2 separate regions of the Homo sapiens genome follow, and region 1 is linked to region 2. The links are contacts of gene promoters, found by promoter capture Hi-C in human tissues and cell types (Jung and others, 2019). All regions are on one chromosome and are shown on one strand. The core of a region is centred on a gene start or on the middle of the fragment in contact, and the rest is flanking DNA. Distances in the headings are between cores, read along the strand shown. Region 1 has its middle 1.8 kb from the start of C1QTNF6. Region 2 holds the start of TMPRSS6 (transmembrane serine protease 6).

Region 1 (2,757 bases), core at 56-2,555, 80 kb after region 2:
CGCGTCGCCTCTCAGAGCCTAGGTGTTCCAGAACTGCAGTCCTCAGCCCCCTTTGTGCCAGGCACATGGGAGGGCTTAACCCATGTTTGTTGGGTGAATGACCAGGCTGACCTCCTCAGGTATCATGCAAGTGTTACCAGAGAGGGGTACTGATCAGACCCCAAGAGAGAATTCTTGGATCTTGCACCAGAAAGAATTTGGGGTAAGTCCACAGAGCAAAGTGAAAGCAAGTTTATTAGAGAAGCAAAGAAACAAAAGAATGGCTACTCCATAGGCAGAGCACCCCCAAGCACTGCTAGTTGGCTATTTTTATAGTTATTTCTTGATCCTATGCTAAACAGGGGTGGATTATTCATGAGTTTTCCAGGAAAGGGGTGGGAATTTCCTGAAACTGAGGCTTCCTCCCCCTTTTAGACAATATAGGGTAATTTCCGGACATTGCCATGGTATTTGTAGGCTGTCTTGGTGCTGGTAGAAGTGTGTTTTAGCAAGCTAACACATTTTAATTAACATACAATGAGCAATAAGGATGACCAGATGTCACTTTCATTGCAATCTTAGATTTGGCAGGTTTTGGCTGGTTTGTTTACCGCATACTGTTTCTCAGCAGGGTCTTGATGACCTGTATCTTGTGATACCAGTCCTGCCAACTTCCTATCCCTTCCTGTGACTACAAATGCCTGACCTCCTGGGAATGCAGCCTGGCAGGTCTTAGCCTCATTTTACCCAGCCCCTATTCAAGATGGAGTTGCCCTATTTTGAACACCTCTGACATATTTCCCTACTCTCTTTTACGAGGGAACGTTTAATCTTAAGGGTTGTAGAGGCATGAAGATCCATCTTCTGTAACTTCTTCAGGCTGAATAGAGGCGATGATATTCCTGCCTAACTATTAGAGTCTCTTGGGTTTGGTGCAGAGAGGAACTGAGTAAGAAAATGTTGGTGTGTTCAGAGTCATTTGTAACTCTGAGTCCTAACAAAAGGTGATATCTGGAAGATTAATGTGTTCAATTTAAGGAAGCACTGAGTAAGCTTATCTTGCATTCTTACACAAAGAGTATAGCAGCAATATATTCTACAACAGCAAAGTAAAATAAGTAAAATTATCCCAAGTAATCCAAATAAGAAGGCTTTCCATGAACTGGGCAAGAATGCCTGTGACTTATCGGGTAAAATGAGGCTGAGACCTACTGGGCTGCATTCCCAGGAGGTTAGGCATTCTTAGTCACAGGAATTGCTAGATGAGCTGATACGGAGTTGCTAGACGATTCCAATACATGCTCAGAATTAGATACTGATCCAGATTTTTATGTTATCCATCCCTCTTGTTTCTGACGAGAAGCAGTCAAGAGATGACTGTTTGGTTCACAGAAAGAAGCAAGGTCAGTCTAAATTGCAGACAAAAAACTCAAAAACAATGGATGAGACTAGAATCTATGACAGGTGTACCATATTTTTTGAAACACCGTTTTTCTCTCTCCAGTCTCCCATTTTTTATTAAAAACAAATCATGGTAGGACCAATTTATTTGCAAAATAAGCTTTAGTCTTATTATACTTGGCTTCATTATTTGCATAAAGTGCAGCAAGTATAATTATTTGCCATACAGGCTCCTTTTAAAATTGGCTTTGTTTCATAAGGTATCTTAGATTAGATGTTTTAAAGCTTTGAGCCCAGCCATGGATTTACCTATGCCTGCAAGAACCTGTATGAGTTAGATAAATTCCTCTCCTCTTGAGGTCCCGAGATAACTCGGGGCTCCCAGGCCTGTCAGAAAGTTACATTCTTTACTTACCACAGGTCAGGAACCCTATACAGGGACTTCATACACAAGGTACAAGACCAGTTTTTCCAAGAGGCTTTTATTGGCTCTATTAGTCAACTTTAATTCCTTAAAGAAGTCTGTTTATATTTGAAAGCATGCCACTCGAGTCAAACCCTTGTTAAATAACCAGTTTCTCCAATTGTGTCCTGTTACAAAAAAAAAAAAAGAAGAAAGAAGGAAAAACAGATTCTTACTGCACTTATGCAAATAACTATATTGCCGTAAGTTAAGAACACTCACAAATAGTTTCCAAATTCTGCAGAAATCAGGTAAAGAGAAAAAAACATATTCCAAATTTTGTTTTTGGACAAAACTTTGTTTTATAATCCTTACCGGAGCGTACTTTACTCAATTGTTAAAAGCTGTAAATAGCTCAAGAAGGGGGGGTTTCTTGACTCTGAAAAACAAAACAGAAAGATCAACAACATTTTAAGCAAAAAGTCATAAAAGATTATTTCAGTCTTTTATTAGTTCAGTCTATGCAATTAATTCCTGTTTTGCTTGATATATATGTGTTAGTTTTCCAAGAGTCTTGGATGATGTTTTCTTTTTCTCTGCATTTAAGAGTACTCATCAGAGTCCTATAGCTGATTATAAACCACCTTTTGAAGAGAATAAAAGCAAGACAACAATTGTCTATGGATGACAGAAAGACTTAGAGCAGTCATGGTTAAAGAATTAATATCATTGACTAGGAAATGTGGATACCTCTGTGGCATATAATAAATTAACATCATAACAATTATAATTATTATTGATAATGTCCATTAGTATTGATAATGTTCATATCAGAATTATAGGAGTTTCCCATAATTTTGGAACACATACCAATAACATATTTATATAAACACAGCCCAAAGAAAGCCAAACACAATTTCATATTTGACAATGCTTCCTGTATTATTTTAATGTACCAAATAAGCCAAATATGT
Region 2 (2,863 bases), core at 195-2,694:
CTCCCAACCTGGCCAGCTCTTATGCAGCCCCTGTCACCTCAGTTCAGACCTCACCTCTTCGCAGCTCTCCCAGAGTGCCCTAGAAGGGGCGGCTGCCCCTCGCGATGTGCAGCTTACCTGTGGGCACTCTCTCTTTGCCCCTCACATTGAACTCCTGGAAGCGGGGACTGTGCTCCAATTGCCACAGGGGCCTGAAGCAGTCCCCCAGCTCTGAGCACCATGGACCCCACCCTGGCACCTGCTCCTCACTCCCTCCTGCCCTTCTGGCCATTGGAGGGTCTCGGGTCTGCCTGCTGGAGGCTGAGCTCCTTGGGGCGGGGCCGCGACTCCCCCAGCAATGCAGATCCGGATTCAACCACTGCGTATGAACTCCTACCATGTGCCAGCCCTGTGCTGGGCAGTGCTGCAAACTCCACTGCAGCCTCCAACAGCCTGGGGTGCCTACTTTGCTGACTCTATTTAATGGCTGGGGAAACTGAGGTAGAGAGAGGTAACATGACTTACCCGAGGTCCCTCAGCCAGGGCAGAGCAGAGCAGAGCAGGGACTCTGGGCTAGGGCCATAGGGGCATCTTTCAGTGAAACCATTAGGCCCTAGAGTCCTGAGAGTGTGGGGGACTGGGTGGGGGTCCCTTCCACACATATAAACACACTCACAGACCCACAGATGTACACAGATGGAGACACGCGGAGGGATATACGCACATCTATTCATGACACAAAAATTCATAGATGCACGCCCTTCCTACACAGACACACACACGAACACACATACACATACATGCCAACTCTGAGCCTGTGAGCCCAGGGTCCTGGGCTTAAGTCAGTACATAGGTGCAATGTGGGGCTCCGGGCCTGTCTCCTACACCAGAAGGCCCAGGTGGGGTACCGGGTGTGGAGGGGGCAGCATGTCCAGTCCTGCGAGGCAGGGGTAGGGTGGCCTCTCCCTTCCTCCTGTCCCTGCCACCTGAATCCCAGGCCACCAACCACCCAGCACTGATGCTGTGCCTGTCCACACACCTGGTGTCACCCTGCGTGGTCCCTCCCCTCCCCAGCTCTGTGGGCCCCTCACCTTCTGCTCACTGATCACCCTCTGGCCGATGAGGCCCTGCAGGCCTGGCCTCGGAGCAGGGTAGGTGGCTCAGGCTGCAGGGAGCCAGGCCCAGCTCTTAGGGTGGACACTGTCACTAGGTCATTTATAGATCCCGGTCCCCTGTCCTGGAGGCCCCCGCTTACCTTTGGGAGCGGCAGATAGGTGCCGGGCCTGCACACAGGCCTCAGGAGCCTCTGTTTGTCCAGGCCAAGGCCTCCCCACCCCCACCCAGCCAGCCCAGGCTGGATCAATGGCCTAGAGCCATGACCAGGGTGTCTGGCCCTTGTCCCCTGTGGCCTGTGGCCTCAGGCTCCATGGAACTCCTCCTGCTGGGTCCTGGACAGCACTGTGACTAAGTACAGGTAAACAGGCAGGAGGTAGGAGAAGGCAGTGCCTGCCCCGCCCCATCTTCCCCCACCCCCGCATGGGCACCCCAGAGGCTGGCAGGCAGGTGCGGGAGATCTGAGCTCTCCCCCGAGGCCCGTTGCCTGGTGACATGCCTGCCTGGTTACAGCCCCTGGTCCCCGAGAGCATGAGGTAGGGACAGCCAAGGACTGGGGACTGTGCAGAGGCCGGTGCAGGTGAGTGCAGGGGCTCACAAGGGTGAGTCCAGGTGCTTACCTGGACAGGCGAGACTAAAGGAGCTGCTGGCCTGAGAGAGAGAAAAGGAGGCTGGGCCCATATACTCTGGGGACTGGAGAGGAGAAAGGGGAGGCAGGGGTGGGGTTTGATGCTATTTTCTGTTTAGCTGGGAATTATTTGAATTCCTACCTCGTTCTTTTTTTTTTTTTTTTTTTTTTTTAAGATGGAGTCTCACTCCGTCACCCAGGCTAGAGTGCAGTGGTGTGATTTCGGCTCACTGCAACCTCCGCCTCCCGGGTTCAAGCAATTCTCCTGCCTCAGCCTCCCAGGTAGCTGGGATTACAGCGCCCACCACCATGCCCGGCTAATTTTCATAATTTTAGAAGAGATGGGGTTTCACCATGTTAGCCAGGCTGGTCTCGAACTCCTGACCTCAAGTGATTCCACCCACCTCGACCTCCCAAAACGCTAGGATTACAGGCATGAGCGACCGCACGCAGCATGAATTCCTACCTGGTTCCGTAGCGCTGTGCTGTCCATGACGGTAGCCGCTGGTCACCCGTGGCTCTTGAGTCAGTCTGAACTGAGAAAAGCTGCACGGGGGAGACGCACACCAGGTTTCCAAGGCCAAGTGCAAACAGGATGTCAACCAACGCGATAACAATTTTTATATTGATTTTATGTTGAAATAACACTGGTGATCATGGGATAAATAAAATGTATTATTAAAAGCAATTTTCTTCTGGCTCTCTTGTTTTTTTTTTTTTCAGAGACAGGGTCTCATTAGGTTGCCAGGCTGGTCTGGAGCTCCTGGGCCCACATGATCCTCCTGCTTCAGCCTCCCAAGTAGCTGGGATTACAGGCGCGGGCCACCACACCCCTTGTTGCATGTGGATATTAGACAGGTTAAGTCACAAGTGTGACCTGCGTTGTTGTTCTATGGAACAGCGTTGCTGTGGAGATGGGTTTGAGCCATATGCGTGCCGAAGTGCCGGATGGGAGCCAGGGCTTTCTAGGGTGCGTGCAGGGCAGCGGGCGTCTGTCTCAGACAAGGCTGACTTTCAGCGAGTCTACATCCTGAGGCCAGAATGCGGGGTGCACGCCTGAGATGCTGTGTGCTGTGGGCATATGGGTCCCAGAGTGTGTGTGTAAGAGAGACAGTCTGGAATTTGTGTGTGTAGATTATGTAT

The links. Contacts are between HindIII fragments. The study calls those that stand out against the background at their distance.
Region 1: a fragment that was not itself captured here is called in contact with the fragment with the promoter of TMPRSS6 in region 2 in 7 of the 25 tissues and cell types used here (H1 embryonic stem cells, IMR-90 fibroblasts, heart left ventricle and 4 more).

The regions. Positions count from the first base shown.
Region 1 is chr22:37,188,707-37,191,463 of GRCh38, forward strand. It overlaps a transcript of C1QTNF6 not described here. Among named protein-coding and RNA genes, the nearest start is that of C1QTNF6, 1.8 kb to the left of the region's middle. RefSeq lists enhancers at 1-550, 551-1,184. The HindIII fragment of the contact is 4,689 bases long and covers 1-2,757 here.
Region 2 is chr22:37,108,269-37,111,131 of GRCh38, forward strand. It overlaps TMPRSS6 (transmembrane serine protease 6), which reads right to left and starts at 1,445. Exons shown (of 18, transcript NM_001374504.1): 1 at 1,235-1,445. RefSeq lists an enhancer at 1-176. The HindIII fragment of the contact is 35,568 bases long and covers 1-2,863 here.